Regions from separate parts of the Homo sapiens genome. Here regions 1, 2, 3, 4 and 5 are each linked to region 6. The links are contacts of gene promoters, found by promoter capture Hi-C in human tissues and cell types (Jung and others, 2019). All regions are on one chromosome and are shown on one strand. Each heading gives the region's core, a stretch centred on a gene start or on the middle of the fragment in contact. The rest is flanking DNA. Distances are from core to core; before and after follow the strand shown.

Region 1 (4,310 bases), core at 89-2,588, 380 kb before region 6:
GAGGCCAAGGTGGGGGCGGATCACGAGGTCAGGAGATCGAGACCATCCTGGCTAACAGGATGAAACCATGTATCTACTAAAAATACAAAAAAATTAGCCGGGCATGGTGGCGGGTGCCTGTAGTCCCAGCTACTCGGGAGGCTGAGGCAGGAGAATGGCGTGAATCTGGGAGGCGGAGCTTGCAGTGAGCCGAGATCGCGTCACTGCACTCCAGGCTGGGCAACAAAGTGAGAATCAGTCTCAAAAAAGAAAAAAATTGTTAACCATGACTTCTGAGAGTGTGTCTAAGGGTTAAGCAAAGAAATTTTTTTGAAAAAACTTTTACTTTGAACTTTAATACCCATCCATGCCTTCTGATTTTTAATAATGAGCTTCAGCATCTTTTATAATAATGTTTTTGTATTTTTTATATTATTAAATTTTTTTCATTTACTTTTTCTTTATTTAACTCCCGCTTAGATGATAAATAATGCTTTTAAAAGCTTTAAAACTTTAAAATTCCCACTTAGAGGCTTGAAGTTGGATCATCTGCCTATACTCATCCCATAGGCTACACTTCACTCTCTCTCTTAACATTTTTTGTATACATGATATCTCCTTTGAAAGAAGGAACTGAGTCTTATTCATTATCCCAGCATTGCATAGTGCTTTGTGCTCTAGTGTAAAATTTCTAAAATGGCACCATTTCATCAAGTCACAGAAGTCTTTCTGTTTTTTGTTTTTTGAGACAGGGTATTGCTCCATTGCCCAGGCTGGAGTATGGTGGTGCAATAACTGCTCACTCTAGTCTCATCCTCCCAGCCTCATGTGAGCCTCCTGCCTCAGCCTCCTGAGTAGCTAGGACTACTGGGGCATGCACCACCACATCTGTCTAATTTTTAAATTTTTTTGTAGAGACAGGGTCTCACTATGTGGCCCAGGCTGGTCTCGAACTCCCAGGCTCAAGCAGTCCTCCTGCCTCAGCCTCCCAAAGAGTTGATATTACACTTGCGAGCCACCCCACCCAGTCAGAAGTCTTAAATATACAATAAACTTATCCTTTTTTTTTTTTTTTTTTTCTGAGACAGGGTCTTGCTTTGTTACTGAGGCTGGCGTGCAGTAGCAGGAACATGGCTCACTGCAGCCTCGACTTCCGGGGCTCTGGCAAAACTTCTGCCTCAGCATCTCATGTGGCTGGGACCACAGGTGTTTGCCACCATGCCCAACTTTTTTACTTTTTGTAGAGATGGGGTCTCACCACTTGCCCAGGCTGGTTTTGAACTCCTGGACTCAAGTGAACTGCCTGCCTCAGCCTCCCAAAGTGCTGGGATTACAGGCATGAACCACTGCGCCTGGTCTTATAAAGAAAATTTTGTAGAATGTGTATTTCAAATGTGTTGAGAAAACAATATATATTTAATAAAATTCTGAAGTAAACCCTTTTCAAAGTGAAAAAAATCACTCAGTAATATTATTTTGAAATTTTCTAAGATTTTTGCCACTATTTTCCTAGTTAGTTACTTTTTTATTATAAGATCCACTAAAAGAGGGTAATTTCATTTTTAGAATCTTTCACTTTGGCAAAGCCATGGCAGTAAAACAGTTGCTTGAAAGAAATCTTACTGTAGAAAGCTCTACTCTAGATTAAATTTAGTGCAAACCTGGAGTCATGTTGAGCTCTGGAGGTAGACAGATTGAGTTGTAAACCTTGCTCTGCCACAAACCAGCTGATCCTCAGTTTTATCAATCATCATAACAATACCATCTTCATGTTGCTCCCTATTTAACACACACTTCTTGAACACGTATTATGTGCCAGGCACTATCCTAAGCACTTCACATGTATTTACTCATTTAATCCTTAAAACCTTGAAGTTGATATTATTATCCCTATTTAATAATGAGGCAATTGAGGCAAACAGAGTAACTTGCCTAACATGACTCATCTAATCATTGTTGTAAAGATTAAATGAGATTTTGCCTTTTACATGTTAAGAATTCCCTCCATAGCCAGGTGTAGTGGCATGCGCCTGTAGTCTCAGTTACTCAAGAGGCTGAGGTGGGAGGACTGCTTGAACCCAGGAGGTTGAAACTATAGTAAGCCATGATTGAGCCACTGCACTGTGGCCTGGGTGACACAGCAAGAGTTTATCTCAAAAAAAAAAAAATTTTTTTTCCCACAAATATTCACATTATTCTCCTGTCCTGACAACTGTGCTTGTCAGATAGTGTGAGGCTATTCGGTGTTAGATGCTCATCTAGATGCTGAGTATAGGCTGTGCACCACAATAGCCCTGAGGCAAAGTACAATAAGAGAGTATGACGGAGGAATCTAATCTAGACTGGGGCAGCGGGGTTCAGGGAAGGTCTCCCTGTGAAAGTGATACTCAGGCTGAAAACTAAATGAAATTAATAGGGGTTATCCAAGCAAAGGCAAAAAGTAGGGACAACAGAGAATGTTTCAGGCATGTGTGTGGATCTCTAAAAGATGCAGGCAAGAGTAAAGAACAAAAATATGACCCATGTGACCAAATAAGAGAAAGGCTGATTGGAAAGGGTCAAATTAAACAAATCCAGTGGATTTTATGCAAGTAAGTAGTAGTATTAACAGATTTCATGGCAAACACCAAGCACTCAGTAAACCACAGCTATCATTACTATATTATTGTTATTATTATTAATTTTTTTTTTGTTTTGAGACGGAGTCTGGCTCTGTCGCCCAGGCTGGAGTGCACTGGCGGATCTCGGCTCACTGCAAGCTCTGCCTCCCGGGTTCACGCCATTCTCCTGCCTCAGCCTCCCAAGTAGCTGGGACTACAGGCGTCTGCCACCATGCCCGGCTAATTTTTGTATTTTTAGTAAAGATGGGGTTTCACCGTGCTAGCCAGGATGGGCTTAATCTCCTGACCTTGTGATCCGCCCGCCTCGTCCTCCCAAACTGCTGGGATTACAGGTGTGAGCCACTGGGCCCAGCTAAGTAAGTAGTAGTATTAACAGATTTCATGGCAAATACCAAGCACTCAGTAAACCACAGCTATCATTACTATATTATTATTATATTATTATTATTATCATCATCATTATTGAGATGGAGTTTTGCTCTTGTTGCCCAGGCTGGAGTGCAATGGCACAATCTTGGCTCACTGCAACCTCTGCCTCCTGGGTTCAAGTGATTTTCCTGCCTCAGCCTCCTGAGTAGCTGGGATTACAGGCGTGTGCCACCACGTCCAGCTAATTTTGATATTATTAGTAGAGATGGTGTTTCACCATGTTGGCCAGGCTGGTCCTGAAAGCCTAACCTCAGGTGATCCACCCGGCTTGGCCTTTTACTATATCATTATAAGCATCATCCCAGTGTCATTGAGAGATTTTAGGTTGATTTCAGACTTAAACAAACCTATATTTCAGTCCTTTGATATAAGAGTGGGCTAACTTGGCCTGGTGCGGTGGCTCACACTTGTAATCCCAGCACTTTGGGAGGCCAAGACGGGCAGATCACTTGAGATCAGGAGTTCAAAACCAGCCTGGCCAACATAGTGAAACCCTATCTCTACTAAAAATACAAAAATTAGCCAGGCATGGTGGTACATGCCTGCAGTCCCAGCTACTGAGAAGACTGAGGCAGGAGAAACGCTTGAACCTGGGAGGCGGTGGTTGCAGTGAGCTGAGATTGCACCACCGCACTCCAGCCTGGGCAACAAGAGCAAAACTCCATCTCAAAAAAAAAAAAAAAAAAAAAAAGAGAAGCCTAAGTCGGGTTACAGCCCTTAGGACCAAGTAAGGCAAGTCCTCTCTGGTCTAAAACAAACTGCTTCTCTGGGTGTACAAGCAATCTATTCCTTTTCATCCTATAGAAAGCAGATTCACTATTAAAAAATTATATGCTATTTGGTGATATTCAAGGGGACTATCCATAGGTTTGGAGGAATCTCCCATATTAAACATTGCTCAAAATTTGTAGGCAGCCCTCTAAAGCATAAAAATATTTTTATGTACTGGATAGAGATTTTTCTTTTCTTTTTTAGACAGGGTCTCACTCTGTCGTCTGGGCTGGAATACAGTGGCACAAACATGGCTCACTGCTGCCTCCACCTCCCAGGCCCAAGTAATCCTCCCACCTCTGCCTCCCAAGTAGCTGGGCCACAGGCATGCACCACCACTCCCAGCTAATTTTTTTTTTTTTTCCTAGATATGAGGTCTGTCTATGTTGCTCAGGCTGGCTTTATATTTTACAGCTTTCGTTTCGCGACCTTTGTGATCAAGCTAACACTTCTAGTTATCTTGTAGCAGTGCCTTCTTTCTAATTTAGCAATTGATTTAAAGAACCAAGC
Region 2 (4,195 bases), core at 932-3,431, 410 kb before region 6:
TCTGATTATTTTTCCTTATCAAAATACCTCTCAGATATGATTTAGATGCTAGGCTTTATATTTAGCATCTAAATATATATTCTAGGAATGGACATCAAAAACATGTAAGATCCCATTCCAACAAATTCTAGTTCAATGAATCTGGGATGAAATTTGGACATCAGTATTTTTAAATGGCTCAAAGGGTGATTTTGTCATATGGGCTCAGTTAAAAAACTATCATTCTATTCCTTTCTTAGGAGAATACCTCTCCCTATCCATTGTTGGAACAGTAACCAGTGGGAGCTAGACTCTAGACACTCATGATCTTATTGTATAGTATTGAAGAAGATACTGCGAATCTGTTAAATTTCAAGATTGCAAAGGCTCAAATAAACTTATAAGTGAGCAATGGACCAGATACCCTAATATAATACCTGCCTGTCACACTCATTGACACTCATTGTTTATTCCCATAAACAAGTTATTCTCAACAGGGAAATGAGAGTAGGGAAGATGGAGAAGTGTTTATTTTTAAGAAAAGTAACATATGAGGGGGGACTCCATTTCAGAGGTAAGAAAAACAATGACTTCTGTCTTTTCAGTAATTTCTGTTCTAGACCAGGGAATGGAAGCTTTAGCTCATAATCTCAATATAATTTAAACAATAGGAAATCTTGTACAGTTTTAAGTGCTGTCACTTTTCTCATAAATTGAGGCCTACAGTATTAAAACAAAGTGCTTTAAAGTAATTATCAATTGGTATTTATCTTTAACTAGAAATTAAAGCCACTAGTTAATAATAACTAAAGCACACCGTTGACAGAGGAAAGGAAACAAATTAATGAAACCCATTATGAATTACTGTGTTTAGAAAACTATGATGAAAACAAGCAATAATTAAGGGGGGAAAAGTAGAAAGAACAAGTGAAAAAAGATTAATACCACATAGAAGTCTAAAGATTATATAAGAAAGCACTTCGAAAATCCAAATCTTAATGTAAAGATAAATAAATTATATATATATAAAAAATCAAATGTCCATAGGCATAGGCACATGACAAAATCAAAGAAGCGATGAGCTGGGAGGGAGGCATCTTATAAATAAAAGAACTATAGGCCAGGCGCAGTGGCTCACGCCTGTAATCCCAGCACTTTCAGAGGCTGAGGCAGGCAAATCACTTGAGGACAGGAGTTCAAGACCAACATGATGAAACCCTGTCTCTACTAAAAATTAAAAAAAAAAAAAATTAGCCGGGCATGGTGGCACGCGCCTGTAATCCCAGCTACTCAGGCGGCTGAGGCAGGAGAATCGCTTGAACTCGGGAGATGGAGGTTGCAGTGAGCTGAGATCGTGCCACTGCACTCCAGCCTGGGTGACAAAGCGCAACTCTGTCTCAAAAATAAATACATCAATTAAAAATAATAGAAAAAAAAGAACTATAATCTGTGAGAACAGGAAAGCCCACAGAATATGCTAAATCAGGTGACAACTCAAAACAGTTTAAAAATAATTTCAGGAATATCATAAGAAATTTTAAAGTTAATGCCTTTTTACTACTTTCATTAAAGGAAAAAAATTGAGAAATTAATGGGATTACTTGATTTATACAATACAAAGAAGAGATAATTATAAGGAGGGAAAAAGGATTGGTCTGTAATCTATTCTTCAATCTCATCCTCTTTTTTCCATTTCACCATTTCCCCACTTTTTTCCATTTCACCATTTCCCCACTTTTGTTATGTTTCTAGGAAGTCAACATAATACAAAGTTTGTGTGTACATATAACTAAAATCAAATACAAAAAATAAAATGTCAGCTGGGCACCGTGGCTCATGCCTGTAATCCCAGCACTTTGGGAGGCCAAGGAGGGTAGATCACCTGAGGTCAGGAGTTCGAGACTAGCCTGGCCAACATGGTGAAACCCCGTCTCTACTAAAAACACAAAAATTAGCTGGGTGTGATGGCAAGTGCCTATAAATCCCAGCTATTTGGGAGGCTGAGGCAGAAGAATCACTTGAACACGGGAGGCAGAGGTTGCAGTGAGCCGAGATCGTGCCACTGCACTCCAGCCTGGGCAACAATAACGAAACTCCATCTCAAAAAAGAAAATAAAAAAAATAAAATGTCTCTGTCACTACTTAAGGCAAAAAGAAAAGAAAATGTCGTTTCAGGTTAATTTTTACAACTGAAGTTAACTTTTCATTGTTTTAAATATTTTAGCCACAAAATTCAGTTTCTTTTTACTTGTTTGTGGTCTCTGATTCCCTCCACCCCACCACGTGAAAAGGGAAAGAAGTTTCTACTGCTACCCTAGATCTCTCAGAAATCTATTGTCTGTCTACTCAAATATAAAATCCATGATGCTCTCTCTTTATATAGTACAGCAAGAGATTATATTTACATTCACAATGCCAATGGAAACCACAGAACTGTCTTTGTGTGAGAAGCTAATATCCTTAGAAAATACATGTAGAAAACACATAATATTAATGATAAGGAAAAAGAAAAGGTTTTCTTTGACACATCGAGAATTCAGCACCAGAGCAATAAGATTTCTAATTAATAACCAAATGCTGGAAGAATTGACAGAGAATCTGTAGCTCTCTTCATATGCCACTGGAACCTGACTTTCCTTGTCTCAGTGCCCTCTACTATTCCCCTTCCCATTCTTTCCTCCCAGGTTCCAGGTTGGTAAAACTCTTTTTCCCCTAGGGCAACTCTCTTTTAATTTATTTTACACGAGTGTAACTCTTCAAGATGGAAAATTGATGACTGAACAAAGATTTCACAAATCATATCTCTGCCTCCAAGTCCCACTGAAGGAAAGCCTAGGAAGGTTAACTACTAGAATATAGTTGATCCTCATCATTCACGAATCCATATTTGCAAATTCACCTACTTGCTAAAACTTGCTTATAATCCCCAAATCAACACTCATGGTACTTTCCTGGTCATTTACAGACAAGTTCAGAGCTGTGAACATTTTGTGTTGTCTATTGTGCACATTCCCAGCTGAGGTAGACAAGATAACACTCTACCTTCTTGCTTTAGCTTTTACACTATAAACAAGTGTCTTTTTCATGGTTTATTCAGTGCCATGTTTTTGCATTTTTGTGTTTTTTGTTGGTGCTCTTGTTGTTTAAAATGGCCCCTAAGTGTAGTGCTGAAATGCTGTCTAGTATTCCTAAGTGCAAACAGGCTGTGATGTACCTTAGGGAGAAAATATATGCGTTAGGAAAAGCTTCAATCAGGCAAGAGTTACAGTGTTGTCGGCCAAGAGTTCAATGTTAATGAATCAACAACATATATTAAATATGCTATCTCCAAACAGAATAAAACAAAGTTATGTACTGATTGATGGAAATGTTGTGACCAAAGGGTTGCAGGATCCTAACCCTGTATTTCTCTTAGAAGCAATGATTCAATATTCACTAATTTAGTGTTCGCAGTGGCTTTACAGAATATAACTACTACAAGTAATGACTTAGGTGTGCGTATAATTAAAAATCAACTTCCTCCCCTCACCATTGTAATCCTCTGTAATTTCAGACTGAGGAAGCAAACAAAACAAAATTTTCATTCTTGCTATATTCATGAAGATGTTTTCAGAGTTTGTTCTTAAGCACTATAATCATATCCACAGTGTTTGATCTATACTTACAGTTTTCATAAAAAGTTACTACATACAAAATGTCCACCAGCAGCATTCAACTTGCAATACCAAAAGATTATTTCCTAAAAATGTTTATCTCTTACTTAGTACTTGTCTGTTTCAGAACTGACCTCATATTCGTATACTCTTTACATACTGATACAAAGTAGTGTGTTATCATTTGCTATCTTCATGTTTAATATTTGTCCAATTAAATACAGCTAACTTAAATAGCTCATCCTATAGAATTATAAAACTGGAAAATGTAGTTCTAGATCAGCAACTCTCTTTTCCTAGAGAGTTACAGAAGCTATCAAATAGCATACCTAAAGTCAAAGTGACAAAAAACAAAGATTGAAAATGAAACTAACCCACAACAGGAATTTAAAACAACCCTTTAAAAATGTATGTCTGTAATTCAAATACCATCAGTAATGTTCCTTAAGTGGCAATGTATGTGTAATTAAAAAGATGACTGATGAGAAATTCAAAGGCCTGATGGCTGTTACAATACCAGTACTGCAAGTCCTCATATTTACCTTCTTTAATGCTTTTACTAA
Region 3 (4,151 bases), core at 1,431-3,930, 320 kb after region 6:
CATTTCTACTAAAAATACAAAAATTGGCCGGGTATAGTGGCTCATGCCTATAATCCCAGCACTTTGGGAGGCCAAGGCAGGCAGATTGCCTGAGCTCAGGAGTTCACGACCAGCCTGGGCAACATGGTGAAACCCCCTCTCTACTAAAATACAAAAAATTAGCCAGGCATGGCAGTGTATGCCTGTAGTCCCAGCTACTCAGGAGGCTGAGGCAGGAGAACTGCTTAAACTCCGGAAGGCGGAAGTGGCAGTGAGCTGAGATCGCACCACCGCACTCCAGCCTGGGCTACAGAGCGAGACTCCATTTCAAAAAATAAATAAATACATACATACATACATACATAAATTAGCTGAGCATGGTGGCGGGCACTTGCAATCCCAGCTACTTGGGAGGCTAAGGCAGAAGCATCACTTGAACCTAAGAGGCAGGGGTTACAGTGAGCTGAGATTGCTCAAGTGCACTCCAGCCTGGGCAATAGAGCGAGACTCTCCCCCAAAAAAAAAAAAAAAAAAAAAAGGAATATTTATAACTATTTTAGTGACACTCTGTTGCACAATAGTTAAATATATTCAACTCTTAGTTTTTCCCCTCCCTCTTCATAAAAGCAGCTACATCAATATAAACTCAACTGAAGTTTCTATGACCTATGTATGCTGCTATTTCTTTCCAGACCACAACATAAGTTATATTTAGCATTTTTTCTTTCCTTTTTTTTTTTTTTTTTTTTTTGGACATAGAGTTTCACTCTTGTTGCCCAGGCTGAAGTACAGTGACACAATCTCTGCTCACTGCAACCTCCGCCTCCTTAGTTCAAACTACTCTCCTGCCTCAGCCTCCGAAGTAGCTGAGATTACAGGCGCCTGCCACCATGCCCGGCTAATATTTTGTATTTCTAGTAGAGATGGGGTTTCACCACATTGGCCAGGCTGGTCTCGAACTCCTGACCTCAGGTGATCCACCCGCCTTGGCCTCCCAAAGTGCTGGGATTACAGGCATGAGCCACGGCGCCTGGCCATATTTAGTATTTTTTCTATCAAGATTTCAATGTTTTCCAAAGTTCAAGAAATCTCAGCTTCTCTACACAATTATGTTAGAAATATATCAGACACAAAATTATAAAAATAAAGCTGGCCGGGCGCCATGGCTCATGCCTGTAATCCCAGCACTCTGGGAGGCCAAGGCAGACAGATCACAAGGTAAGGAGACCGAGACCATCCTGGCTAACATGGTGAAACCCTGTCTCTACTAAAAACATACAAAAAATTAGCCGGGCGTGGTGGTGGGCAACTGTAGTCCCAGCTACTCGGGAGGCTGAGGCAGGAGAATGGTGTGAACCCAGGAGGTGGAGCTTGCAGTATGCAGAGATCGCACCACTGCACTCCAGCCTAGGCGACAGAGCGAGACTCCATCTCAAAAATAAATAAAATAAAATAAAATAAGCCAAGAGAAGTATAAGTTCAATCTCCAAGTATGCCTCCAAAACTGTAGTGTGTAGATAAATGTGATGTTAAATTACGTTTAGGGAGATGAACTGCCACTCCCAGCTAAATGTGTGTTGTCACTCAGTTCCCTGGAGACCCATTCTGTTAGAAGATATCTTAAGAAAACAGATCATTTACAAGTCTGATCTGTGGATCTGTTTTTTTCAGAAGTGGAACAGTCAGAATTAGAAAAAAAAAAATTTTTTTCCCTAAGTTGGAAGCTTTCTGGAAAAGGGTTAAGTCTTTCCATAGATCTAGCTTAGCCCCAGAGCAAACTTATACCAGACAAATGAACATTAACAAAAACAGCACTTGATTTCACAGTAATAATCTAGAACTTCAGCTACCCTACGCCTGATCCATAATAGTTTGAGCCAGAAAAGTACCTGGCACAAATTTCAAGAGTATCCCTCACACTAATAACTACTGAAACCTAAATATAAATTCCATTTAAATGTGTTGAAAACCAAACTCAGAACCAATTCATACAACAAATTCACAAACCAAAAGAAAAAAAAAATGGTTCTATGGAGATAAGATATACCATTAACTACCGTAGGCAATAGTTATTAAGATACTCCACAAACATATTATGTCTTGGGCTGGGCGAGATGGCTCACACCTGTAATCCCAGCACTTTGGGAGGCCGAGGCAGGCGGATCAGTTGAGTTCAGGAGTTCGAGACCAGCCTGACCAACATGGAGAAACTCCGTCTCTACTAAAAATAGAAAATTAGCCGGGCATGGTGGGGCATGCCTGTAATCCCAGCTACTCAGGAGGCTGAGGCAGGAGAATCGCTTGAACCCGGGGAGGTGGAGGTTGCAGTGAGCCAAGGTTGCACCACTGCACTCCAGCCTGGGCAACAAGAGCGAAACCCCATCTCAAAAAAAAAAAAAAAATAAATCATGTCTTGTTTTGCTATATTTACTCACCTAAGCTTTCCTGTAGCATGCCCACAAGTTTTTTTGTTTTTGTTTTTTTCTTGAGATAGGGTCTTGCTCTGTCGCCCAGGCTGAAGTGCAGTGGTGCAATCTCGGCTCACTGCAATCTCCACCTCCTGGGTTCAAGCGAGCCTCCTGCCTCAGCCTCCCAAGTAGCTGGGATTACAGGCGTGTGCCACCGTGCCCAGCTAATTTTTTCTGTTTTTAGTACAGACAGGGTTTCACTGTGTTAGCCAGGATGGTCTTGATCTCCTGACCTTGTGATCCGCCCGCCTCAGCCTCCCAAGGTGCTGGGATTATAGGCATGAGCCACTGCACCCAGCCCAAGAGTTTGTTTTTAAATAGTTTCTGGCCAGCATGGTGGCTCAAGCCTGCAATCCCAGCACTTTGGGAGGCTGAGGCAGGTGAATCACTTGAGGCCAAGAGTTTGAGACCAGCCTAGCCAACATGGCAAAATCTCATCTCTACTAAAAATAGAAAAATTAGCTGGGCATGGTGCCAACGGCCTGTAGTAGCTCTTCTGGAGACTGAGGCACGAGAATTACTTGAACCCGGGAGGCGGAGGTTGCAGTGAGCCAACATTGCACCACTGTACTCCATCGTGGGCGACAAGGCGAGATTGTCATAAATAAATAGATAGATAGATAGACAGACTGATAGATAGTTTCCCAATGCTATCTATAACCCAAATTAGCTCAGTAAAGAGGTTTGCAAAGCTTTTTAAAAAACTGCATTTGTAGGCCGGGTGTGGTGGCTCATGCCTGTAATCTCAGCACTTTGGGAGGCCAAGGTGAGCAGATTACCTGAGGTCAGGTGGAGTTGGAGGTCAGCCTAGCCAACATGGCGAAAACCCGTCACTACTAAAAAAAATACAAAAATTACCTGGGCGTGGTGGTGCACACCTGTAATCCCAGCTACTCAGAAGGCTGAGGCAGTTACTTGAACCTGGGAAGCGGGGGCTGCAGAGCTGAGAACACACCACTGCACTCCAGCCTGCGTGACAGAGTGAGACTCCATTTCAAAAAATAATAATAAAAAATAAAAATTGCACTTGTAAATGTATGCAGAGACTATTAAACAGAAATAGCACGCAATAAAAACAATGAATATATAATAAACATAATGTCTTTCCATAATTATTTCCCATCAGCTTGAAAGGGGAAGTAGGAAGGACAAGTCCACAGTATAGTTTTGGCACATGAGTTTAATATCAAACAGCCTAGAAACAAAAAGGAGAAAACAGGACATGACAGGAGGCAAACTCTTGGATGCTTTATTCATTTTTACTAGTGGTTTACTATTTCCTTGATTTTATTTGGAAAAGCATGTCTTGGCCCAGAAAGGCAAGAGTGCAGACTGCCAGCAATATCAGATTATCCTTTTCTTATTCTTTGGAGCTACTGAAAACTGAGCCAAAATCAGAGTTGTCTAGGAGCCTTCTGACTGTTCAGGCAATAAAAATTACGAAGTTTCAAGATCAGAGCTCCACAAGGTTTTTACCATACAAATTTTTTTTTTTTTTTTTTTTGGGACAGAGTCTCACTCTGTCGCCCAGGCTAGAGTGCAGTGGCGCCATCTTGGCTCACTGCAGCCTCCACCTCCTGGATTCAAGCAATTCTCCTGCCTCAGCCTCCTGAGTAGCTGAGACTATAGGCACACACCACCACATTCAACAAATTTCTGTTATTTTTAGTAGAGACGGGGTTTCACCATGTTGTCCAGGATGGT
Region 4 (4,698 bases), core at 1,369-3,868, 290 kb before region 6:
TTAATGCACTTATTTTAAAAAACTGAAATCTAAAATCTCTGTCTCCTAAGAGACTTAAGAAAAGCTTAATAAATTAACTTAAATATTCTTAAGAAAATATTCCCCAAAGAGCAAAATAATTACAATGTCAGGACAGAGCCTAAATTCTATCTAGTTTAGGTTTATGCCTCTGACGGTGACTCTAAATGGATTTGTCAGGGTTGTCCTTTGATGTCCCCCTCAAAACAACAGTACCATAACATACTAGATTCTAGTTGCCCTTAAGGACTATATGGAACTATCATCAATGGATTTATCTAAACCCATTTTGAAGCTGTGTGGATATTCATTCTTTTTGATAAGTTCCTGTGTCCCCGCCCAAATCTCAACTTGAATTGTATCTCACAGAATTCCCACGTGTTGTGGGAGGGACCCAGGGGGGAGGTAATTGAGTCATGGGGGCTGGTCTTTCCCATGCTATTCTTGTGATAGTGAATAAGTCTCACGAGATCTAATGGGTTTATCAGGGGTTTCCGCTTTTGCTTCCTCCTCATTTTTCTCTTGCCGCCACCATGTAAGAAGTGCCTTTTGCCTCCTGCCACAATTCAGAGGCCTCCCCAGCCATGTGGAACTGTAAGTCCAATTAAACCTCTTTTTGTTCCCAGTTTCAGATATGTCTTTATCAGCAGCATGAAAACGAACTAATACAGTAAGTTGGTACCAGTAGAGTGGGGCATTGCTGAAAAGATACCAGAAAATGTGGAAGCGACTTTGGAACTGGGTAACAGGCAGAAGTTGGAACAGTTTGGAGGGCTCAGAAGAAGACAGGAAAATGTGGGAAAGTTTGGAACCTCCTAGAGACCTGTTGAATGGCTTTGACAAAAATGCTGATAGTGATGTGAACCATAAGCTTAGTCCAGGCTAAGGTGGTCTCAGATGCAGATGAGGAACTTGTTGGGAACTGGAGCAAAGATGACTCTTGTTATGTTTTAGCAAAGAGACTGGAGGCATTTTGCCCCTGCCTTAGAGATTTGTGGAACTTTGAACTTGAGAGATATGATTTAGGATATCTGGCAGAAGAAATTTCTAAGCAGCAAAGCATTTAACAGGTGACTTGGGTGTGTTAAAAGCATTCCATTTTAAAAGGGAAACAGAGCATAAAAGTTCAGAAAATTTGCAGCCTGACAATGAAGTAGAAAAGACAAACCCATTTTTTTAGGAGAAATTCAAGCCGGCTGCAGAAATTTGCATAAGTAGCAAAAAGCCTAATGTTAATCCCCAAGACCATGGGGCAAATGTCTCCAGGCCATGTCAGAGACCGTTATAGCAGCCCCTCCCATCACAGGCCCAGAGGCCCAGGAGGAAAAAGTGGTTTCGTTGGTTGGGCCCAGGGTCCCCATGCTGTGTGCAGTCTAGGGACTTGGTGCCCTGTGTCCCAGCTGCTCCAGCCGTGGCTGAAAGGGGCTAACATAGAGCTTGGGCTGTGGCTTCAGAGGGTGGAAGCCACAAGCCTTGGCAGCTTCCACATGGTGTTGAGCCTGTGGGTGCACAGAAGTGAAGAATTAAGGTTTGGGAACCTCTGCCTAGATTTCAGAAGATGTATGGAAATGCCTGGATGCCCAGGCAAGTTTGCTGCAGAAGCGGGGCCCTCATGGAAAACCTCTGCTAGGGCAGTGCAGGAGGAAAATGTGGGGTTGGAGCCCCCACACAGAGTCCCTACTGGGGCACTGCCTAGTGGAGCTGTGAGAAGAGTGCCACCGTTCTCCAGACCCCAGAATAGTAGATCCACTGGCAGCTTGCACTGTGTGCTTGGAAAAGCTGCAGACACTCAACACCGACCAATGAAAGCAGCCAGGAGGGAGGCTGTACCCTGCAAAGCCACAGGGGCAGAGCTGCCCAAGACCATGGGAACCCACCTTTGCATCAGCATGACCTGGATGTGAGACCTGCAGTCAAAGGAGATCATTTTGGAGCTTTAAAATTTGACTGCCCCACTGGATTTTGGACTTGCATGGATGCTGTAACTTGTTTTGGCCAATTTCTCCCATTTGGAATGGCTGTATTTACCCAATACCTGTACCCCCATTACATCCAGGAAATAACTAGCTTGGTTTCGATTTTATAAGTTCATAGGCAGAAGGGACTTGCCTTGTCTCAGATAAGACTTTGGACTGTGGACCTTTGGGTTAATGCTGAAATGAGTTAAGACTTTGGGGGACTGTTGGGAAGGCATGATTGGTTTTGAAATGTGAGGACATGAGATCTAGAGGGGCCAGAGGCAGAATGATATGGTTTGGCTGTGTCCCCACCCAAATCTCAACTTGAATTTTATCTCCCAGGATTCCCACGTGTTGTGGGAGGGACCCAGGGGGAGGTAATTGAATCATGGGGGCCGGTCTTTCCCATGCTATTCTCTTGATAGTGAATAAGTCTCACGAGATCTGATGGGTTTATCAGGGGTTTCTACTTTGCTTCCTCCTCATTTTCTTTTGCCACCACCAAGTAAGAAGTGCCTTTTGCCTCCTGCCATGATTGTGAGGCCTCCCCAGGCATGTGGAACTGTAAATCCAATTAAACCTCTTTTTGTTCCCAGTTTCAGGTTTGTCTTTATCAGCATCATGAAAATGAACAAATACAGACTTTTGACAAATACTTCTTCTGTCTTTCTGGGTAGTGGAAATATTATAACAGCAAATAAAACATGTTCCCTGGCTATGAACAATTTTTAGTCCAAGAGGAGTAATACCCAGGCAAACAAATAAGTAAAGAATATGATAAATGCTAAAATACAGCTACATATCAGGTGCTAACTGGCTCCTTGGGAAATTGGATAAGGTCTCATGGGTGTGGTGACATTAAACCTAGGTCGTTTTTGTTTTTGTTTTTGTTTGAGACAGGTGTGACTCTGTCACCCAGGATGGAGTGCAGTGGTACAATCACAGCTCACTGCAACCTCCACCTCCCCAGCTCAAACAATCCTCCTGCCTCAGCCTCCCGAGTAGCTGGGGCTACAGGTGCATGCCACCACACCTGGCTAATTTTTGTATTTTTGGCAGAGAAGGGGTTTTGCCATTTTGCCCAGTCTGGTCTTGAACTCCTAAGCTCAAGCCATCCATCTGCCTTGGCCTACCAAAGTGCTGGGATTACAGGCATGAGCCACTGCGCCTGGCCGTAACCTAGGTTTTAAAGGATGTGTAGTTTACTAAGCAGAAAATATAGTAGAGGTACATTCTAGACAGAAAGCTTACACCAAAGCAAAGGGTGTGAAAGAGCCCAATATGTTGGGGGATATCGAGTAGGAAAGCATGGCTGTATGTATAAATTTGTAGAGAAGACTGAGTGGCGAGATGGCTGGAAGAAGAGGTTAGTACCAAGCTGTGAAAGGATTTATATGTCTGCATGTGAAGTTTTGCTTCTTCCTAGTAATGGTGAGTCAGCAGCAACACCTTTTTTTTTTTTTAATGTAGATATGGTGTCTTGCTATGTTGATCAGACTGATCTCAAACTCCTGTCCTTAAGTGATCCCCCCACCTCAGCCTCCCAAAGTGCTGGGATTACAGGTGTGAGTCATTGTGCATTGCCTAGCAACACTTTTTAAATAAGGAAGTAACATGGTCAAATTTGAACTTCAGAATGACATACTCTTGTGACAATGTAGAGGATGATTTGGGGGAGAAAGAAAAAATAGACACAGAGACTCCAGCTTCTTGTCCTAAGCTTCTGAAATTTGGGAACTCCCAGTTCATATCTTAAATTTGATATCTAGCACATTCTCTCTCATCCTTCTGAACTAATTCTGTTATGTACACGAAGCATTCTCTCTAAACACTTTGTTGTTAGTTGCTTTTTTCCTGGGAATTTGTTTGTTTGAGACAGGGTCTCACTCTGTTACCCAGGCTGAAATGCAGTGGCATGATCATGGCTCACTGCAGCCTTGAACTCTTGGGCTCAAGTTATCCTCCCGTCTCAGCCACCCAAGTAGCTGGGACTTTAGGTGTGTGTCATCATACCTGGCTAGTTTTTATTTTAATTATTTATTTTTAAACATATTTTTTGTAGAGATGGGTCTCACTATGTTGTCCAGGCTGGTCTCAAATTCCTGGGCTAAAGCAATCCTCTTGCCTTGGCCTCTCAAAATCCTGGGACTATAGGCATGAGCCACCATGCCTAGTCTGGGCACTTTTTTTTTTTTTTTTTTGAGATGGAGTCTTGCTCTGTCGCCCAGGCTGGAGTGCAGTGGCACGATCTCAGCTCACTGCAGCCTCTGCCTCCCAGGTTCAAGCAATTCTTGTGCCTCAGCCTCCTAAGTAGCTGGGATTACAGGTGCGTGCCACCGTGTCCAGCTAATTTTTGTATTTTTAGTAGAGACAGGGTTTCACCATGTTGGCCAGGCTGGTCTCGAACTCCTGACCTCAGGTGATCTGCCCACCTCGGCCACCCAAAGTGCTGGGATTACAGGCGTGAGCCACTGCGCCCGGTCAGTCTGGGTATTTTATACATGGTTATTTAGGTGTAGGAAGCATTTGCCAGTGCTTTCTGATTGACTTTTAATGTCTTTCTCAATGATGCCTTTTGTTTTTCTGGCCGTTTTGGGGTTTTTGGTTTTGGTTTTTTTGTTTTTTTTTTTTTGAGATAGGGTCTCGCTCCAGGTTGGAGTGCAGTGGCATGATCACCCCAGGCTCAGCTGATCCTTTTGCCTCAGCCTCCTGAGCAGCTGGG
Region 5 (4,531 bases), core at 384-2,883, 270 kb before region 6:
TACTCGCGAGGCTGAGGCAGGAGAATGGTGTGAACCCGGGAGGCGGAGCTTGCAGTGAGCCGAGATTGCACCACGGCACTCCAGCCTGGGCGACAGAGCGAGACTCCATCTCAAAAATAAGTAAATAAATAAAAATAATAGTAGAGCAGAAGAGACATGATCCATTATCCTATTTCTGGTTCATCATCCTATTTATGTCCTTCATAGCACTTATCAGAGTTATCTTGTGTACCTACTTGTATACTTGGTTATTGTCTGTTTCTTATTAGAATGTGAGCCATGAGGGCAGGCCTTTTCTCTCTAAAATCTAGCACAATGCTTGGCCCAAATGAAGTGCTCAGTTGTTGAATGAATGGTCTACTTTAAGTAACAGAATAAATTTTAAAATAAATGGGAGAAAGGAATCCAGTTCAACAAATAGTTACTGAATTCCTAACATGTGAGAGAAACTATGTTTTTCCCCCCTTCCATGAATGAAAAAGGATGATTAAATCTGCTCTGGATCTTTTCGGTTTTAACTCTGATTTATACCTAAAGTTAATTTCTTGGTTGATACCATAGTTTCTGTGTTTGGGTTACATAACATTAAAATTTAATCCATTTTGTAAAACCAATATTTTAAAAAGGAAGGAGATTTTCTACAATTTTGGAGCATCTCAATGAGATCCTGTCCTTTAGTTGGACAGAGTGATATGCTTTGATTAAGACTGGAATTACCCTTGTAAACTAATCTCTGGGTCCTCTTTCTGTGTTGGGATCACCCTTACACTACTTCCCTAGGGGCCTTAGGAAATAGCTCATTCTATGATTGGAATTTCAAGTCAAAACACATTTATCTGAGCAGAATTTTAATGATTTATCAAAGAGAGGAGGGATTTTCCCAAACACAACTGAACTTACAAATTACTGATCCCACTAGCTATGTTTTTTCTTAAGCACCTTTCTTTAAACAAAGCAATTACTGCTGAAATCATCAAATGTATTTTTTTCATGGAAAGCTTTTGACTAAGTTTTGTTTGATTAGCAGGAACCTACTAAAAGTAAATATTGTTTGAGACAGCACTTTCAGAGCCTGTTCTTTTTCTTCATTCAATTAGCTTTTAAAGCACTATTCTTTGGAGAAAGTAAGAGCCTTTTTTCCAGCTGTCCTATTGTGTAACTCAAGGTCTCGTTAATACTATTATCTAGCCCCGAGATTACAGGTAATTGTGATAAAACACAAGCTTCAGTTTCTGTAATCTCAGACAGAAATCTGCTTGTGCCCCAGGACTTCAGATCAGGTGTTTTTTAAATTCAGACTTCTCTCACCTGGGACAGTCCCATTGGCCCAAAGTAAACAGAGGCATCTGGCGGGGATAGAGCTGCATTAGGGCCCATTGCCACTTTTTTTTTTTCCCTTTAAATTAATGTGGCAGAACTCCTCCTGTGGCCAACTTACAAAGACCTGTTCTAAATGGGAAAATTCTGTATTTTAAAATAGGCATGCTTGAAACAATAACACTTTTGAATGTAAGATATATGAAAGGCCACACGTCTTCGGCTTTGCTTGTCAAATGGAGAGGCTGCCAGAACCGGTCGGCTCCATGGTTCTCATGCCCCAAAGTCCTGCAAATTGACACGTAAGTAGGCAACACACAAAGAAGTTCAGCCCATGAGAAAGTGAGTTTGGGCGCTTGGGCTGGCCTCCTTTCTCTCTGTGTGGAGTTCTTTCCAACTTTGCCTCTTCTGTCCCATCTTAGTTTTTCAGAAAGGAGAGATTAAATGTGTCTGGTATATCAGCATGTTAACTGCTTGGGCAACATGAGGCTAGCACTCAGGACACTGTTCAGCCTGTCATATGGAAGGAATTGCCTTTCAGAGGAGATTATAATTGTGTATATAGCCACACAAATGCACATTCTGCCTGGAGGAAATTGCACAGAAGAGGATGCCTTATGCTGCCACTCAGGTCTCTTTGTGGAAGGCTGCGTAAGAAGTGCTTACATGGCATAGTCACCTCTTTTGGACTTAATGAGTCATCTTTTTGTGTGATGGCTACATAAAAAAAAAGGAAAGAAGAAATGTACTCTTCCCCAAGTGAGCTGCTTTTATTGGCCCTGCTGCTTTGTCTAAGAGTTTTATACACTCCTCATGACATCATTTACAATGCTGGTGCACAGACAGTAAACAAAAAATAATTTAGCCCTTGGGCACCTAGACGAAACTTAAGTAGTCCAATTTAGAGAAATGATAACAATAAACTTCATAAACAGTGAACACATGAGCTTAAACAGCAAGCATGACTCCAGTCCTTTTTGGAATGCGATGCATTGAAAGATGGCTATAGAGAAAACTAGAAGCTCCACACGTCAGTTATGTGCAGTTAAGCCTTGAGTCCATGGTCTAGTGTTAATCTCAAGAGTACATTCTAGTTAGTGGATAAAATACAGGCTACCATGTGAGTAAGTCATTAAGCTCCTTGAGCCACAGCATTTCACCTATAAAAGTGGGAAAGGTAATATTGCCACCTACCTCACAGGAATGAAAGATGATTGAGAAGATAAACTTGTGGAGTTCCTTATAGGGAAGGTATTTTGTAAATAGAAAACACTGTTATTATTCTCCTTGATCAAATTTCCCCAACAAATGGAGTTGATAAAAGCTACCTCACAGAGGGTTGAGAGGCTGAATTAATTAATATACGTCTAGTATCTTAAGAGTAAACTATTTAATGAAACCTAAAATTGATTGTCTTTCTTGATAGTCTATGAACTACCAGACCTGCTGTTTAGAAACATGATTGTCTTCTAAAGTCTCACATATGCAGTCTTTGCCTTCTCTTCAAGGGTTGGCACGATAAAGAATAGTGAATGTACAGGCAAAAGATAGGCTAAATCTTCAGGGAGAACAGCCTTGCCTTTTTTCTTTTCAAGGGTATATTTACAAATAGCCTTTGGAGTCTTGCTAATCTTTGTTACCATGCCTGAACATAGGGACTGTTTTGACCTTTGTTCTTCCAATAAATATTTATTTTTGATATCATATTTCTAAATGAGAAACAAACTTAGAAGGAAAAGAAGTGGTTGAATTTGTCTCACATTATAAATTTTTTCTTATCTTTCCTAGGATGGTAAGAGAAAATAACTTTTTTTTTTTTTTTTGAGACAGAGTTTCGCTCCATCACCCAGGCTGGAGTGCAATGGCACAATCTCAGCTCACTGCAACCTCTGCCTCCTGGGTTCATGCAATCAATTCTCATGCCTCAGCCTCCCGAGTAGCTGGAATTATAGGTGCATGCCACCATGCCTGGCTAATTTTTGTATTTTTAGTAGAGATGGGGGTTTCGCCATGTTGGCCAGGCTGGTCTCAAACTCCTGATCTCAAGTGATCCTCCCGCCTCGGCCTCCCCAAATGCTGGGATTACAAGCATGAGCCACCGTGCCCGGCCTGAAAATAACTATTATTGAAGGACCAGACATCAGGCTCTCCAACTGGAAAGTTCTCAAACTTAGCCAAGTGATTAAAAACAGCTTTGGCTGTTCAGAATTTAATCTTTTGTTTTCAATTACAGTTAGTAGTATTTGGGTAACTTCATTTCCCAGATTTCATTTGCTGTTAGGTGACACAAAAAGGGGAAAGACTTTTTCTTTTCTTTTTTTTTTTTTTTGAGATGGAGTCTCGCTCTGTCGCCCAGGCTGGAGTGCAGTGGCGTGATCTTGGCTCACTGCAAGCTCCGCCTCCCAGGTTCACGCCATTCTCCTGCCTCAGCCTCCCGAGTAGCTAGGACTACAGGCGCCCGCCACCTCGCCCAGCTAATTTTTTGTATTTTTAGTAGAGACGGAGTTTCACCGTGTTAGCCAGGATGGTCTCGATCTCCTGACCTTGTGATCCGCCTGCCTCGGCCTCCCAAAGTGCTGGGATTACAGGCATGAGCCACCGCGCCCGGCCTAAAGACTTTCTTTTAAATTCTAATCCCTTAGGCAGGGATCATGTCTCATATATATATTTTTTAATACAGAGATAATATTTCAACTTTTAAGTAGTACAGCTGCCTAAATACTGTCTTAAGTAGAAACTGTTTTCTTTTTTCCTTTTTTCTTTTTTTGAGGTGGAGTCTCACTTTGTTGCCCAGGCTGGAGTGCAATGGCCCGATCTCGGCTCACTGCAACCTCCACCTCCCGGGTTCAAGCAATTCTCCTGCCTCAGCCTCCCGAGTAGCTGGGATTATAGGCGCCTGCTATCACGCCTGGCTAATTTTTGTATTTTTAGTAGAGACAGGGTTTCACCATATTGGCCAGGCTGGTCTGTTGGTCAGGGTGGTCTTGAACTCCTGACCTCATGAGCCACCCGCCTCAGCCTCCCAAAATGCTGGGATTACAGCCATGAGCCACCAGGCCTGGCCTGGAAACTGTTTTCAAATAGGTGTTCTTCATATGCCATCTAGAGTAATTCTCATATGCAGGAGGACTGAAGGAGACAGCAGTCTCGTTCAGTCCTCACAGCAGGTAGACACCAGCTGATCCCACTTTTCTTTGAGGAAACTGGGATTTAA
Region 6 (4,870 bases), core at 1,749-4,248:
GGCTTAAGCGATCCTCCTGCCTTGGCCTCCCAAGTAGCTGGGACTACAGGCGTGTGCTACCGCACCTAGCTAAGTTGTGTATTTTCTAATTTTTTAGACAGGGGTCTCAGTATTGCTGAGGCTGATCTCCAACTCCTGGGCTGAAGCGATCCTATCCTCTTGCCCTCTCGAAGTGCTGAGATTACCAGCATGAGCCACCACACTGGACCAAGAGTTGATTTTGGTAACATCTTCTGTCCCTATCTGTCTGAAAAATCCTTGAGAGTAGGATCTACCATTAATGCATTAAACAAATTATTATTTTTTGTTTGTTTATTTTGAGATGGAGTCTTACTCTGTAACCCAGGCTAGAGTGCAGTGGCGCTATCTCAGCTCACTGAAACCTCTGCCTCCCAGGTTCAAGTGATTCTCCTGCCTCAGCCTCCTGAATAGCTGGGATTACAGGTGCGTGCCATGATGCCCAGCTAATTTTTTATATTTATTTATTTTTATTTTTATTTTTTTGAGTTGGAGTCTTGCTCTGTCGCCTAGGCTGGAATGCTGTGGCATGATCTTGGCTCACTGCAGCCTCCCTCTCCTCGGTTCAAGCGATTCTCCTACCTCAGCCTCCTGAGTAGCTGGGACCACAGGCAAGTGCCACCACGCCCCAGCTAATTTTTGTATTTTTAGTAGAGACGGGGTTTCACCATGTTGGTCAGGCTAGTCTCGAACTCCTGACCTCAAGTGATCTGCCTGCTTCATCCTCCCAAAGCGCTGGGATTACAGGCATGAGCCACTGCGCCTGATGGTATTTTTAGTAGAGAAAGGGTTTCACCATGTTGGCCCGGCTGGTCTTGAACTCCTGGCCTCAAGTGATTCACCTGCCTTAGGCTCCCAAAGTGCTGGGATTACAGGCTTGAGCCAATGCGATGGCCTACCATTAATGCATTTTTGTATATCTCCTCCCACCCCCACAAACTGTCAGGCACGGGGCTTAGTGGGTGGAGGAAAGGCCCAGCAATGCCTGAGTAAGCCCAACTCCTGCCTGCCTCTTCGCAGAAACTAGGGTGCATCCAAACTGTCTCTTCTCAGGCTAGGCAGGACAGCGCGGCCTCACCTGTGAACCTTCAAGACTTGGACTTTGGCTGAAGCGAGGGCGTAGGAGTTCTAAGTACCGCTGGCTGCACGCCCTCTGGCCCATCACGTCCCAGGCTGCTCCTAGGTGGACACCCAACAGGTTAGGCAAGTCTTAGTTAAAAGCAGTGAGAGGCCAAGAGGCTGGGCATGGTGGCTCACGCCTATAATCCCAGCATTTTGGGAGGCCGAGGCAGGCAGATCACAAGGTCAGAAGATCGAGACCATCCTGGCCAACATGGTGAAACCCTGTCTCTACTAAAATACAAAAAATTAGTCAGGCGTGGTGGTGTGTGCCTCTAGTCCCAGCTGCTCCGGAGACTGAGGCAGGGGAATCGCTTGAACCCGGGAGGCGGAGATTGCAGTGAGCCGAGATTGTGCCACTGCACTCCGGCCTGGGCAACAGAGTGAGACTCCGTCTCAAAAAAAAAAAAAAAAAAAAAGCAGTGAGGAGGCTGGGCACAGTGGCTCACACCTGTAATCTCAGCACTTTGGCAGACCGAGGTGGATGGATGCCAGGAGTTCTAGACCAGCCTAGGCAACTTAGGGAGACTCTGTCTCTACAAAAAATGCAAAAATTAGCTGAGTGTTGCGGCGCGCACCTGTAGTCCCAGCTACTCGGGAGGCTGAGGTGGGAGGATCGATGTCCAGGAAGTCCAGCCTGCATTGAGCCCACATCCTGCCACTGCACTCCAGCCTGGGTGACAGAGAGAGGCCCTGTCTCAAAAAAAAAAAAAAAAAAAAGAAAGAGAGAAAGAAAGAAAGAAAAAATAAAAACAGCCAACGACCAAACAAATAAAAGAGCAGTGAGAACCAGACACGGTGGCTCATGCCTGTAATCCCAGCACTTTGGGAGGCAGAGGCAGGAGGATCACTTGAGCCCAGGAGGTCCAGACCAACGTGGGAAACATAGCAAGACCTTGTCTCTACAAAAATAAAAATAAAAAAATTAGGCTTGGGGATACAGGTCTGCAAGCCTACTTGGGAGGCTGAGGTGGGAGGATCAGTGAAACTTGAGGTCAAGGCTGCAGTGAGCTGTGATTACATCACTGCACTCCAGCCTGGGTAACGGAAGAGAGACACTGCCTCTAGGAAAAAAAAAAAAAAAAAAAAAAAAAGGCAAGGAGTTCCAATCATTCTCCCTTCACAGAGAAGCAGCTTGGATTCGATGGGACTGTAGTTTCTGGAATCCGACTGCAAAGCTGACCGCTGGTAGAGCCCAGCTTCTAACTTAGGAAAGGCACTAGCTCTCTACAAAGCCGCCACTCCCCAACTACACCCTGTAGGGACCAGCCAATCCCAAAGCCCGAGCGGGCGTCATCACCAATTGCAAGGCGGGAGACAGAGCCTTGGCTGGCACCGGGCCTCCTCCCCGGACCCGCAGAGGCCTGGCAGCGCCGCGTTTGAGGAGGGTTCGTGTCAGGAAGTCAAGGCTGGATGATCGCTTAAGCCCAGGAGTTAAAGACCGGCCCGGACAACAAAGCGAGACCCCGTCTCTCCAGAAAAAGAAAAAAAGAGAGAGAGAGAGAGAAATTAGCCGGGCGTGGTGGCGTACGCTTGTAGTCCCATCTACTTAGGAGGCTGAGGTGGGAGGATCGCTTGAGCCCAGGAGGTGGAGGCTGCACTGAGCTATGATCGCCCCACTGCCCTCCAGAGTGAGCGACAGAGCCAGACCCTGTTGCTAAAAAAAAAAAAAAAATCCATAAAGCCGGGGACCATCTTTGCTCCAGGGAGGTCAGCTGACCCGGGCTGGCACTGGCCCTGGCGCAGTTCCCGCCCCTCCCGGGAGCGCTGGCACCGCCCCTTGGCACCACCCCCTCCCCGCGCCCCCGCCTTCCAGGAAGGGGCGGGGTCTCCGAGACGGGTGGGGCCGGAGCTCCAAGCTGGTTTGAACAAGCCCTGGGCATGTTTGGCGGGAAGTTGGCTTAGCTCGGCTACCTGTGGCCCCGCAGTTTTGTAGTCCCCGCCTTGTTTCTCCCCAGAGGCCTCTCAATCCTCCCTCCATGATCTTCGCATAGAGCACAGTACCCCTTCACACGGAGGACGCGATGGCTCCCAAGAAACGCCCAGAAACCCAGAAGACCTCCGAGATTGTATTACGCCCCAGGAACAAGAGGAGCAGGAGTCCCCTGGAGCTGGAGCCCGAGGCCAAGAAGCTCTGTGCGAAGGGCTCCGGTACTGCCTGTGCCTGCTGCTTGAATATTTCCGCCTTTTAGGGTGCTCGCGCAGGAGGCTGCAGCGGGGGATGGGTGCTCCGAGGCTCCCGAGGCCCGCGCAGGTCACGGGTGCCTCCGGCTGTGCATTCTACCTGCAGGTCCTTTGACACCAGAGTGTTTAGGTTTCAACACCTCTCCCGCTAGGTAACAGGAAGCAGATGAGCTCCGTAACAACAGACACACGGACTTGTCAGATTCCTTGTTCGTATCAGGGTTCTTGCACAGTTAGGACGGCTTCAGAGAATCCTACCTTTCCTGGCGCTGTGTGTGCTGGATTTCATAGTCACGCTTGTTAGCTGCACGTCCTCGGTGGTCAGTTGTGAGAGCCCCCAATTCCTTCCTCCTTAGAAAGCTCATTCTCTGAGGTTTACTGGGGCTTGAACCTGGGGCTATAAGGAGTTTCGAGACACTCAAAAACGAGCTGGGGCTTGTTAATCAAGTGGTTTTTGTCCATGAGAAGAAAGAATTGGTTGTCAAGACGTCGGACCTATAGTGATTGGGTCCTCAAATACAGTTTGGTGATCAGGAGTTGTTGCTTTATTGCTATTCTAATTTCACTTACCTCCCCAGAAGTAACCTAGTTAAGAGCATTTCCAGGCCTTCCTATTCCTTCTTTTCCTAAACGGTGACTTCTGCCATGCTGCCCTAAAATCTTTTTATTGTGCATTATATGTGATTTATAAAATTGTGACCCAGTCCCATCTCGAGTTTTGCAGCCCAAACTGGGAAGAGTTCTGCATTGTACTTTATCCTTGTGTGTTTCTTTGGCTGGGGTCTCAGGAACCCTGCACGACTGTATTTACTTTCACTTCAGACTTACTGTTTGTGGGAGTGTTTTGGGGAAGGGGCCAAATCCTCACTCATTTTTTTATTTCTGGTGCTCGTTGAGACCACACAGACATGGAAAGGCCGCAGGAGGTGATGAGACAGAGATTAACCGTGCCGAATGAAACAAGGCTTCCTTTCGGGGAATTCAGCAGAAAAACCTTTCGTGAGATTGGAGAGGAAAATATGTCTGTTCTGCTTGGCAGGTCCTAGCAGAAGATGTGACTCAGACTGCCTCTGGGTGGGGCTGGCTGGCCCACAGATCCTGCCACCATGCCGCAGCATCGTCAGGACCCTCCACCAGCATAAGCTGGGCAGAGCTTCCTGGCCATCTGTCCAGCAGGTAAGGCATTTTTTGCCTCAAGTCCTCAAGGGTTTACACGTGCATTTTTACTATTGCATGCTCCCAAATTAGATGATGGCTTGGTTCACCAGCTTGTCAGAGTGGTCCGATCACCCAGACTGTGGTGACTGGCCTACTGGGCACTCAGCCAGGTAAAAAATGTCTTATGTTGTAAAGGTCCCAGCTGGAATGCACTCTGCCCCTTTTGCTTTCCAAGATTATTCGTTCGTGTACATTGCAAATATTTTCATGCACAGGGCAGGCAGTTAGCTTTCCTTTGGTGGGAGGACTTGGATCTAGGGCTCATCCATGAAGGAGGCAGAGATTGGCAGTTTACCCAGAACTTGGGTTTTAATTCAACCTAATTCATTTC

The links. The method cuts DNA at HindIII sites, captures the fragments that hold promoters and counts their contacts. A contact is called where the count stands out against the background at its distance.
Region 1: a fragment that was not itself captured here is called in contact with the fragment with the promoter of DDB2 in region 6 in 2 of the 25 tissues and cell types used here (dorsolateral prefrontal cortex and mesendoderm cells).
Region 2: a fragment that was not itself captured here is called in contact with the fragment with the promoter of DDB2 in region 6 in 1 of the 25 tissues and cell types used here (dorsolateral prefrontal cortex).
Region 3: a fragment that was not itself captured here is called in contact with the fragment with the promoter of DDB2 in region 6 in 1 of the 25 tissues and cell types used here (hippocampus).
Region 4: a fragment that was not itself captured here is called in contact with the fragment with the promoter of DDB2 in region 6 in 1 of the 25 tissues and cell types used here (hippocampus).
Region 5: a fragment that was not itself captured here is called in contact with the fragment with the promoter of DDB2 in region 6 in 1 of the 25 tissues and cell types used here (adrenal gland).

The regions. Positions count from the first base shown.
Region 1 is chr11:46,830,823-46,835,132 of GRCh38, forward strand. The region is part of intron 1 of CKAP5 (cytoskeleton associated protein 5); the gene reads right to left. Among named protein-coding and RNA genes, the nearest start is that of CKAP5, 13 kb to the right of the region's middle. The HindIII fragment of the contact is 9,291 bases long and covers 1-4,310 here.
Region 2 is chr11:46,803,857-46,808,051 of GRCh38, forward strand. It overlaps CKAP5 (cytoskeleton associated protein 5), which reads right to left. Exons shown (of 44, transcript NM_001008938.4): 8 at 4,175-4,195. Among named protein-coding and RNA genes, the nearest start is that of CKAP5, 40 kb to the right of the region's middle. The HindIII fragment of the contact is 5,433 bases long and covers 1-4,195 here.
Region 3 is chr11:47,533,315-47,537,465 of GRCh38, forward strand. All of the region lies in intron 1 of CELF1 (CUGBP Elav-like family member 1), which reads right to left. Among named protein-coding and RNA genes, the nearest start is that of CELF1, 18 kb to the right of the region's middle. The HindIII fragment of the contact is 4,129 bases long and covers 617-4,151 here.
Region 4 is chr11:46,926,784-46,931,481 of GRCh38, forward strand. No RefSeq gene overlaps it. Among named protein-coding and RNA genes, the nearest start is that of CSTPP1, 7.6 kb to the right of the region's middle. The HindIII fragment of the contact is 4,284 bases long and covers 477-4,698 here.
Region 5 is chr11:46,946,546-46,951,076 of GRCh38, forward strand. All of the region lies in intron 1 of CSTPP1 (centriolar satellite-associated tubulin polyglutamylase complex regulator 1), which reads left to right. Among named protein-coding and RNA genes, the nearest start is that of CSTPP1, 12 kb to the left of the region's middle. The HindIII fragment of the contact is 6,510 bases long and covers 1-4,531 here.
Region 6 is chr11:47,211,976-47,216,845 of GRCh38, forward strand. DDB2 (damage specific DNA binding protein 2) reads left to right here and starts at 2,999. Exons shown (of 10, transcript NM_000107.3): 1 at 2,999-3,288; 2 at 4,361-4,497. The coding sequence starts at 3,162. RefSeq lists enhancers at 1,603-2,439, 2,440-3,275, 2,482-2,721, 2,563-3,762, 3,052-3,331 and a silencer at 2,792-3,001. The HindIII fragment of the contact is 25,797 bases long and covers 1-4,870 here.